3 separate regions of the Homo sapiens genome follow, and regions 1 and 3 are each linked to region 2. Evidence: promoter capture Hi-C in 16 types of primary human blood cells and fetal thymus (Javierre and others, 2016). All regions are on one chromosome and are shown on one strand. The core of a region is centred on a gene start or on the middle of the fragment in contact, and the rest is flanking DNA. Distances in the headings are between cores, read along the strand shown.

The links. Contacts are between HindIII fragments. The CHiCAGO score rates a contact against its expected background, and 5 or more counts as called.
Region 1: a contact is called between a fragment that was not itself captured here and the fragment with the promoter of LINC02902 in region 2, in 4 of 17 cell types (total B cells, naive B cells, M1 macrophages and 1 more). The highest score is 23.3, in total B cells.
Region 3: a contact is called between a fragment that was not itself captured here and the fragment with the promoter of LINC02902 in region 2, in 4 of 17 cell types (total B cells, naive B cells, M1 macrophages and 1 more). The highest score is 17.2, in total B cells.

What each region holds. Positions count from the first base shown.
Region 1 is chr7:47,735,890-47,739,260 of GRCh38, reverse strand. No RefSeq gene overlaps it. Among named protein-coding and RNA genes, the nearest start is that of LINC00525, 24 kb to the left of the region's middle. The HindIII fragment of the contact is 4,204 bases long and covers 1-3,371 here.
Region 2 is chr7:47,652,938-47,656,534 of GRCh38, reverse strand. LINC02902 (long intergenic non-protein coding RNA 2902) reads right to left here and starts at 1,291. Exons shown (of 3, transcript NR_171030.1): 1 at 1,187-1,291. The HindIII fragment of the contact is 4,908 bases long and covers 1-3,597 here.
Region 3 is chr7:47,528,363-47,531,904 of GRCh38, reverse strand. TNS3 (tensin 3) reads left to right here. Exons shown (of 31, transcript NM_022748.12): 2 at 2,758-2,869. Among named protein-coding and RNA genes, the nearest start is that of TNS3, 52 kb to the left of the region's middle. The HindIII fragment of the contact is 5,206 bases long and covers 1-3,542 here.

The DNA of each region.
Region 1 (3,371 bases), core at 502-3,001, 82 kb before region 2:
CAACAGCCATCATCACAGGAGGTAAATGCTGCATCATCTTAGGAGGTGGGAATTGCTATGGAAAAATGAAAAATTAGAGGAAGGCAAAAGGGACCAGGAGTGTGGTGTGGGCTAGTGGAAAGCAAGTGTCAGCATCAAATAAGTTGCTCCAGAGAGGCCTCTGCAGATGGTGTCATTTGAGCAGAGACCTGAGGGGGCTGGGAGAGCAGACTAGGCTGGGGCTATGGGGCAATGTCTCAGGCCCACAGGATGACCTGCAAAGGCCCGAGGACCTGAGGTCAAAGGCCAGCCAAGGCCAGGCTGCTGGAGGCAAGGGCAAGTGAGAAGGGGCAGCAGGTGGGGGAGGGTCTGGTGGAGGGACTCAGGCTCTGTCCGTGTGGGCTCTGCAAAGAGCTCTCCGCTGCTTGTTGAAGGCAGAGGCAGAGACCCTGAGGAGGCTGTTGCCTCCTCACACTCAGGTGTGAATGTGGCTTGTGGCTTAGGCCCACAAGAAGGGTGGGGCAGTCCCCAGAAATGTCCAAGTCACTCACTACGGTCACACATCGTATAGCATACAAGTCAGATTCTATTTAGAAGTTTAACAACTCAGCCACTGATGTGATTATTGTTCAGTCTTTGGTTTGTGAGGCTCATGGAGCCGGTTTCTTGTTAAACACTTTACAAAAGGTGGAGCCACATACAGGAGCCATAAGACACCACAGAGGGGGAAACTCAGGGCACCTTTGATCCAACTGCTCATTTTACAGACAAGGAAAGTACGACTCTGGGAGATGGCATGGTTTCCTAAAGCCAGGCCGTGATTCTCGTGCTTGAATTTGCACAAATGCCACCTGGGGCTTTTGGTAAAATGAAGATTAGAATTCAGCAAGTCTGGCATGGACCTAAAGTTGTGGACTTTCTAACCAGCTCTCCAGAGATGCTAAGGCTGCTGGTCCGGGGACCACACTTTGAGCAGCCACAGTCTGGACTGGATGGGAGGCTGCAGTGAGAGCCTGGGGAAGTGTGGTTTAACATTTTGAATCAGGAAAGCTATGGGCTGTAGGATGCAGACACCAGTCTTGCTACACACCTGAAGATGAGGGTCTGAAACCAGGGAGGGCGAAGGCTGTGAAGCCCAAGTGAAAGATGGACCAGCCCCCACATAATTGAGGCAACTTGCAGCATATGTGAAACGCTAGGAACATCATCATGGGACCGGAGGACAGGTGTGGCCTAAAAGGTTCCTCACATGGTCTCAGACAGGGCAGGGGATGGGAGATACTCAACATCCATACCCTTAGCCTGTGGCTCAGGACCCGGAAATTGGAACAAGCTGGGCCACTGTGAACAGCTCAAGACTGAACATTAAAAAGGCTCCGCTGGTTCTGTGTTTCCCACGAGAGAAGGGCAACATGAGCTGAAGGCAGATGCCCTTGTGTCCCTGTTGCCACTGTCTGCCCTGCAACAATGAAAGAATGTCAGCTGTGCTTTTGGCAGACCCCAAAGCCCAGCCTGGAGCATTTAAGTTGCACAACGGTCCTGCTTTGTCAGATTGTGACTGAGGCAGAGGAATGGTTCCCTCCCTCTGGGCTTGTACAAAGAGGGAAAGGATGGAGGTGGGAGCTGAAGCCTCCCTCCAGGTCAGGACCTGAGCACTGGCTGCAGGGAAGTCTGTCCTGCTGCCAGCTGTTCAGACATGGAGGCCCCTCTGTGGGTCCCAGTTTGCTCCCCTCACTTGCTCCCCACATCCCTTCTCACAGTTGGCACCCCAGGCGGACAGCCCTTGGTCAGATGGGCCTTGTTGGGGACTAATTATTTTAAATGGCTAAAGTGAAGGAGTGAATGAGGAGTAAGGAGAAATTGAGGGGAATCCCCACAACATCTCTGCAATCTGCAGAATAATGACCCCCAAAGATGTCCATGTCCTGGGCCCTAGAACATGTGGGTACGGCACCTTACATGGCAAAGGGGACATTGTAGATGGGATTAAATTAAGGGTCTTGAAGTAGATTGTCCTGGATTGTGGGGCTGGGCCCAATGTCATCACAGGATCCTTATAAGAGGGAGGCTCAGAGTCAGAGTGGGAGATGTCACAATGGAAGCGGAGGTCAGAGAACAGAGGGAGAGGGATGTGAAGATGCCGTGCAGCTTGCTTTGAGGATGCGCGAAGGAGACACAACCCAAAGAATGTGGATGGCCTCTAGAAGCCGGACAATGCTGGGCAATGGATTCTTTTTTAGAGCCTCAGAAGGAGCACAGCCCTGGGGGCCTTTCTCATCTCCAGAACCCTAAGACAATGCAGTTGAGCCGTCTTAAGCTACTAAATTTGTGTTCCTTTGTTATAGCAACAATAGGAAACAAATAGAATGTCATGATTTTCTAGGATGAGGCCAAGATCATGAGGACTCAGCTATGGCGGGTAGGGGGCTTTGAAACTTGATGCTTCCCCAGTCCAGGGCATGTTCTCAGCAGCCCAGCAGCCAACTCGCTGATTCGTAGAGAGCCCTAATTCCTGCAGGCATTCATTTGTCTCGTTTAAGAGAAACGCATCTCTCTCTCCTGAACCCTATCAACCCTCAGAAAACAGTCTATTAGAAATATGAGACATCAGCCGGGCGCGGTAGCTCATTCCTGTAATCCCAGCACTCTGGGAGGCCAAAGCGGGTGGATCACAAGGTTAGGGGTTCAAGAACAGCCTGGCCGAGATGGTGAAACCCCATCTGTACTAAAAATACAAAAATTAGCCAGGCATGGTGGCGGGCACCTGTAATCCCAGCTACTCTGGAGGCTGAGGCAGAGAACCCAGGATGTGGAGGTTGCAGTGAGCCAGCTGAGATCACACCAGTGCACTCCAGCCTGGGCGACAGAGTGAGACTCCGTGAAAGAAAGGAAGGAAGGAAGGAAGGAAAAGAAAGAAAGAAAGCAGGGAGGGAGGGAAGGAGGGAGGGAAAGGGAGGGAGGGAGGGAGGGAAAGAAAGAAAGAAGGAAAGAAGGAAGGAAGGGAGGGAGGGAGGGAGGAAGGAAGGAAAGAAAGAAAGAAGGAGGGAGGGAGGGAAGAGAGGGAGGGAGGGAGGGTGGAAAGAAAGAGAGAGAGGGAGGGAGGGGAGAGAGAGAGGGAGGGAGGGAGGAAAGAGAGAGAAAAAGAAAGAAAGAAAGAAGGGAGGGAGGGAGGAAGGAAAAGAAAGAAAAGAAAGAAGAAAGAAAGAGAAAGAAAGAAAAAGAAAGAGAGAAAGAAAGGAAGAAAGAAAGAGAAAGAAAGAAAGAGACATCTTGGCAGTGGAAGGCAGTGGCCACGCCTTCCTGCTTGAAGTCTGGGCAACCCTCTGTGTCCATCCTGGAGAAAGGAGCCCTTGAGACCAGCATATTCTTAATGTGTTGCCTGCTCATGGTGA
Region 2 (3,597 bases), core at 42-2,541:
CGCAAGTCGAGCACTGAGAAGCTATGCAGTCCCTGAAGGCCCACTCCTGGACAGAAATCTCCGTGTTTCTCTTTGTTCTGGTCTTGACTGAATCTAAACAAGTGAAAGGCAGTTCTTGAGCCTGTGTAACCCCCTAACCTGGCCCAAGTTCCAAACACACCTGGATCTTCGCCTTTTTCATCTGTTAATTGTGGCCAATAAAAATACCTTCCTTGGCCGGACGCGGTGGCTCACGCCTGTAATCCCGGCACTTTGGGAGGCCGAGGCGGGCGGATCATGAGGTCAGGAGATCGAGACCATCCTGGCTAACACGATGAAACCCCATCTCTACTAAAAATACAAAAAATTAGCCGGGCGTGGTGGTGGGCACCTGTAGTCCCAGCTACTCGGGAGGCTGAGGCAGGAGAATGGTGTGAACCCGGGAGGCGGAGGTTGCAGTGAGCCGAGATCGCGCCGCTGCACTCCAGCCTGGGCTACAGAGCGAGACTCCGTCTCAAAAGAAAAAAAAAAACTTCCTCCCAGGTTTTAGTCGTTTTTTCCCCGGCACCCCTGCTTGCCACGTGGTAAATGTTCAATACAACTAATATCAATAATGACTCAAGTTTATTGATTACCACCTCTCTCTTTCCTCCATGGAGTGCTTACTGGGAGGATGGAGTCTCTTGGGGTGCGTGGCTTTCCCATACATCAGCATCAGCCATCGCGAGACCCCACGGGCCAGCAGTGTGGACGGGGAGACAAGTGAGGCCTCCCAGCCAGAACAGCTCAGCCTGCCAGGAGAAGCAGAAACCCCCCAAAGTAATCACTTCTCGAGTGCCTTCGAGACCCCAGATGTTGGGAAAACAACTATTTTCCCTTGTGTAAGACATGGCCAGTTTCTTTCCATCTCCTAAACAAATCAAATACAACCCTGAGCCCTCCTCCTTCCAGCCTGGCAGAAAATCCAGCCTTGACATTCTGTGGACTCTCTCTGCCCCACAGGGAGTTACCAAAGCCCTGGGAGCTTTTTCAAATTTTGATGGATAGCAAACATTTTAAAAAAAGACAAAAAATCAAATTATCATGAAGTGGACACGCCCATGTAACCACTTCCCAGGTCCAGAAAGAACAACAGTCATCCAGGACCACCCCCACATCCCTCCCAGCATCCACACCTCCCAGGCCCCACAAAGACCACTGTCCTGACCGCTGCCTCCCTCCCTGGGGCCCGGCCAGAGCCGTCTTCCTTCTGTTGACTCTGTTGGTGCCATCCTCATCCCACTGCCCGGGTGACTCGTCTGCCAAATGCAAGAATCGAATGGGGAGAGGAGTCTAGCGTACCCCCTGAACCCTGAGCCCCAAAGCAGGAGTTTTAGCCACATAGCTTTGGGTTTTCCCAGGATCCCTCGGGTGCCTGGGGCGCAGGATGCCAGGGTATAGGAGCTCTGCTCTCATGACGGGTGAATCCCCTGGTTCTCCTGTAAGTGCAGAGATGCTAGGGTAGTTCCCACACTCAAATATTCCCCGAGCCAGGGCTGGGCGCCTGTGGGAATCCCAGCAATCCTACAGTTTCACTGAAGTCCTATAATTTCCCGTACCCTGCCTCTATTTCAGGGACCTGCTGCTCAGAATGTGGAAATGCAGATGTGGTTTGCTTGTGTTGCCATTGTTCTCGTGAGCTGTAAGGCAGTGATTACAGGCTCCGTGGGCGGCAGGGAGCAGCCAACTGGATTGACGGCACATTCTTAGCTTATTTTAAAATCAGTAACAGCATTAATAAAAATCCTGTGCCTTCCCATTTACTTTTTCTTCCAAAAGAAAAAATACTGTACTTCCTAGCAGTCTGTGGCTGGAGTGGGAAGAAAGGAGAAATCATTTGAAAGTGTGAGGAATATCAGAGGAAATTTTAGAAAGGACCCTAGGCCATCTCTAGCTTTCTCATAGCAGTGACCCTGTTCCTCCCCCCAGATTGGGACACTTTAATTTTTTTTTTTTTTTTCAAGACAAAGGAGTCTCGCTCTGTTGCCCAGGCTGGAGTACAGTGGTGTGATCTCGGCTCATTGCAACCTCCACCTCCCAGGTTCAAGCAATTCTTGTGTCTCAGCCTCCTGAGTAGCTGGGATTACAGGTGTGTGCCAGGACACCCAGCTAAGTTTTTGGTATTTTTAGTAGAGAAAGGGTTTCACTGTGTTGGCCAGCCTGGTCTCGAACCTGTAACTTCAAGTGGTCAGCCCACCTCGGCCTACCAAAGTGCTGGGATTACATGCGTGAGCCACCGGCCCGGATGATTCACTTCTTAATAAATCATCCAACCCAATGATTTGGTTCCAAAAGAAACAGATAACATTCAAACACTGTTTCCTCTAGTTCATACTGTAAGACAATGTATTTTAGATACATTTTGCTTGAAATCCACAAACTTGTCAAATACCCACCTGGGTAGAGGAGGACAGCAGAACTGAAGGGCAAGAGGGCTCAGCCAGACTTCCCTCCCCGAGCTCCCGGGAGAAGGTTAATCACTTCGATCTAAACCAGGCAGGGCAGAGACCTAGGAGGCAGGAAGTCAGTTTAAAGGATGTGACATTGGCATTTGCCCAGCGGGTGATGGGAGAGGGAGGTTGAGGTCGTAACACTTCATTTTCATTCTGCATCTTACAAAGACTCCGACCTCTGAGCTAAACTGACTTGGGCCAGCTCCCACCTAGTGAACCTCAGCTCCTCCTCCTCAAGTGAGGCTGTCACCTTGCAGGTAAGCAGAGAGTTTGTGAGTCTAAAAGGAGAGAAACTCTAGGAGAGGAAAGGCTCTGTAGCCATGGGCCTGGAGGAGCCTGAGGCTCTATTTGTGGAATGAGTGTGTTAGAGGAACTGGGGGTCTGGACCAGATAAGAAAGTCCCCAGCTTTAGGCAGTACATGTGTCCAGTAGAGGCAGCAGACAGACTTGCTGGCCAGAGGGGCTGAAGCCATCATTCGGGCCCCAAGGCCAGAGGGTCCAAGGCACATGATAGAGATGGCCGGCGTGACTGAGAGGCATGAAGTTGGAAATAAAAAATAAATTATGGAATCAGAGAGAAGTATGGGTTGTTTTCCATGGACTATGCCTGATATTCTTGTTCAATTTAACCTGATTTAGAACTGGTTCAGTTTTATCATTTTATTTGTACAAACTTATGGAGTACAAGTGTAACTTTGTTACATAGATATATTGTTGTATTAGTCTGTTTTCACACTGCTATAAAGATACCACACAAGATTGGGTAATTAAAAAAAAGAAAGAGGCTTAATTGACTCACAGTTCTGCATTGTTGGGGAGATCTCATGAACCTTACAATCATGGCAGAAGGGGAAGCAGTCACCTTCTTCAGAAGGCAGCAGGGGAGAGAGTGCAAGTGAAGGAGTGACTGCCCAACACTTATAAACATATCAGATCTTGTGAGAACTCCCTCACTATCACTAGAACAGCATGGGAAAAGCTGCCTCCATGATCCAATCTCCCTCCACCAGGTCCCTCCCTCGACACAACATGTGGGGATTACAGTTCCAGATGAGATTTGGGTGGGGACACAGAGCTGAACCATATCAATTGTGTAGAGGTATTTTAGTGTATCCAACATCCAAAT
Region 3 (3,542 bases), core at 627-3,126, 130 kb after region 2:
CAGCTGCACCCCGGGGGGCAGATCCTGCCTGCTCCTGGCCCCACTCAAGAGCGCAGGGAGGCTTGGATCTACAGCTGCAGTTTGGGCAGCTGCAGTGGCACCCAGGGAGTTCCCACCCCAACTCAGAAGGGGTGGAGCTCCCACCGGCTCCATGGAGAGTGCAGCCCCAGCCTCACCTCCCTGCTGCAGCCAGCGTGATGGTAGCAACCGCTGTCATCAATAGTATATTTCCTTTTCTTCTTTCCTGAACTTTGTGCTATTTTTTCAGAAAATTTACTTTTACATATGTCACATGTCACATTACACTATTGTTTAAACAGTTAATTATCTTTTGGTGAGCTTTAAATAATAAGAAAAACTCATAAATTTACCTGTGTAATTAGCATTTCTGGTGCTCTTCATCTGTTGGTGTAAAGCCATAATTCCATCTGCCATGTCCTTTTTGCCCAAGCACTGTCTTTAATATGTCATAGGTGTCAGCTGGTGATGATTTTTTTTGGGCTTTAATTGTATATCTTTTTTTGCATATTTTAAGAAGTTTTTGGTTCACTTTTATTTTGAAGAGCTATTTTTATTGGGTACAGGATTCTAGATTGACAAGTTTTCTTTCAGTATTTTGTTTTATTCTATTTTGTTTATTTTTTTAACTTTTAGATTCAGGGTACATGTGCAGGTTTATTATATAGGTAAATTGTGTGTTGTGGGGGTTTGGTGTACAGATTATTTCCTCCTCCAGGTAATAAGCGTAGTACTCGATAGGTAGTTTTTCAATCTTCACCCTCCTTCCACCCTCCACCCTCAAGTAGGCCCTGGTGTCTGTTCCCTTCTTTGTGTCCATCTTTCAGTATTTCCTATTATACTGCTGTCTTCTCACTTATATTTTTTAAAACAATGAGAAACCTGTTATCCTATTGGTTGGTTCCCTGCATGTAATGTGTCTTTTGGCCCCGTGGTTGTTTTTAAGATCTTTCTCTTTGTTACTGGGTTTAAGCAATTTGATTATTGTATGCCTTGGGGTAGTTCCTGTCACATTTCTTGTGCTAGAAATATATATATATATATATATTTTTTTTTTTTTTTTGAGATGGAGTTTCACTCTTGTTGCCCAGGCTGGAGTGCAATGGCGCGATCTCGGCTCACTGCAACCTCCACCTCCTGGGTTCAAGCGATTTCCTGCCTTAGCCTCCCGAGTAGCTGGGATTACAGGCACCACCACCATGCCCGGCTAATTTTTTGTATTTTTAGTAGACACGGGGTTTCACCGTGTTGGCCAGGCTGGTCTGGAACTCCTGACCTCAGGTGATCCACCCGCCTCTGCCTCCCAAAGTGCTCGGATTACAGGTGTGAGCCACCGAGCCTGGCCAAGAAATTTCTTGAGTTTCTTGGATCTGTGGGTTTATAGTTTTCCTCCTGGTTTGAAAAAGTTTCAGCCATTATTTTTTCAAATATCCCCCCTTCCCTGCCCTTCTCCGTCAGTCTCCATTACACATATGTTATGTTGGTTAAAGTTCTCCCACAGCTTACTGATGCTTGTTTATTTGTTTATTTAGGTTGTCTCATCTCTGTGTGCTTTGCGTTGGGAGGTTCGTACTGTGATGTCTTCAAGTTCATTCACCTGTGCTTCTGCAGGATCTAATCTGCCAGTAATCGCATCCAGTGTATCTTGCACTGTATTCTTACATTTTCCTCAATGAATGTTTGATTTGGATCTTTTTATGTTTTTCAGATCTCTACTTAACTTTCTAGCATATAGAATAGTTATTATGATGGACATTTGGGTTATATAAAGCTGTTATGACCTTTCTTTCTCTTGTGGACATAGGCTTTTATTTCTCTTTAGTGTAAATAAGAATGGAATTGCTGAGTCATAGGTTAGGTGTATGTTTAAGTTTATAAGAAATTGTCAAACCATTTTCTAAAGTAGTTGTACCATTTATTCCACATTCTAAATACCATTTCATCTTTTCAAATAAATTTAATTATTCCAGTGGGTGAGTAATGGCCTCACTGAATCCATATGGATATTAAGTACTGATAGAATACACGGTCACATATCAGCAAATAGACATGATTAGTGCTTGACTCTAAAAGCAAATTGAATTCTTATAAGGTTATCATATAGCTGAGAGCCTTGGCTCTACAAACATGAATAGGTAGCTGAGTGGTTAGTTTTTCCAAGTGCTAATGCTTGTAATTGTGTTTGAGGAAGAACCACATGTGTATCACAGGCTGGACTGTCTCTTCTTCTGCAGGAGAGCTCAGAGAGGCTCAAGAGCTTAATGGTGATTCTGGAACACCTTTGAACCAGGAAAGCCAGTTGACTTCCTCATAACATAATTATGCTGTTTAGCTAATTACTTTTTCCAGAAGAAAAAGGGTTGAGAGTCTAGAAGTGTATGTGGATTACTTTGTCACAGAAGTAGGTGGCTCTACGGCTGAAGTCTGGAAGGGAGTGCATTTTCACATAATGATGTTGGTTGATGTAATGTTTCTAGGCACCCCATGTGGTGATTGATGAGTTGGGTGAGAGTGAACGTCCGTCTAGGACTCTGGAATTGGGAATGCTAACATGGTATCCGTGGGTCGTCTTGGGAATTTTAGCATCACCAAGATGGTTTCTTGTTCTCTGTTTGCTTGGTAAAATTCCTGTTTTTGCTCTTTACAATTCCACTAGATTTATTATTTCCCTTAAATGAAAAGGAAAAAGAAACAAACTATGAGATGAAACGTTGACAATTTCTTCCTTTACTTTTTCAGCCGGAAGAATTAACCTCGAGTCTGCACGCTTTTAAGAACAAGGCCTTTAAAAAATCCAAAGTGTGTGGAGTTTGCAAACAAATTATTGACGGTCAAGGTATTTCATGCCGAGGTAAGTCTGTGTTTATGATTCTCTCACTGATTAATCCAGAGCAAAACAAACAAGAAACAAAACGAAAACTTTTTTTCAGGAGTTTCCGAAAGTTAAATCATGGAATTCCCCTTCTTAGTTTATATGTCCCCCAACCCCCTACCCCCTTACTTAGCAGGGGCCAACCGTATTTACATAGATAAGTGCTCATGAGGACATTTTTACAGAAAGAGCAGAGTTTCCCGATGGGAGAGGAGGCAGCAATTTGTAAATTAATCATTTATTCTCAGGTCTGCTCTGAAGTGTCAGTAACTCAGGTTGTTTAGTTTGACTTTCAGATCTGTTACTCAAGTTTGCGAATGAAATGTTTCTATCTTTAGATTTCGGGTTCATTTTGGTATGGCCCCTTTCAGATCCTGTCACTAAACTAAGCCACCAGCTTGGGTACCAGATATTTAGACGTCAAGTAATGAATGGAACTTGCCAATTCTTTTGTGACTGCACATTAATAAATCTAGTAAGAGAGGTGTGACTGTAATGAATGTGGGAGTGGTGGGGGGCAGGGGCTGCTTGGCGGACCAGTGGGGTACACCACACAGAGGGAGTCACTAGGAGGACCAGGTCCTTGGAGAGTGCGGGGGCTGCTCTTTGGCATCATTTCATCTGCGGGGTTGGGGATTTCCTCTAGAAAATG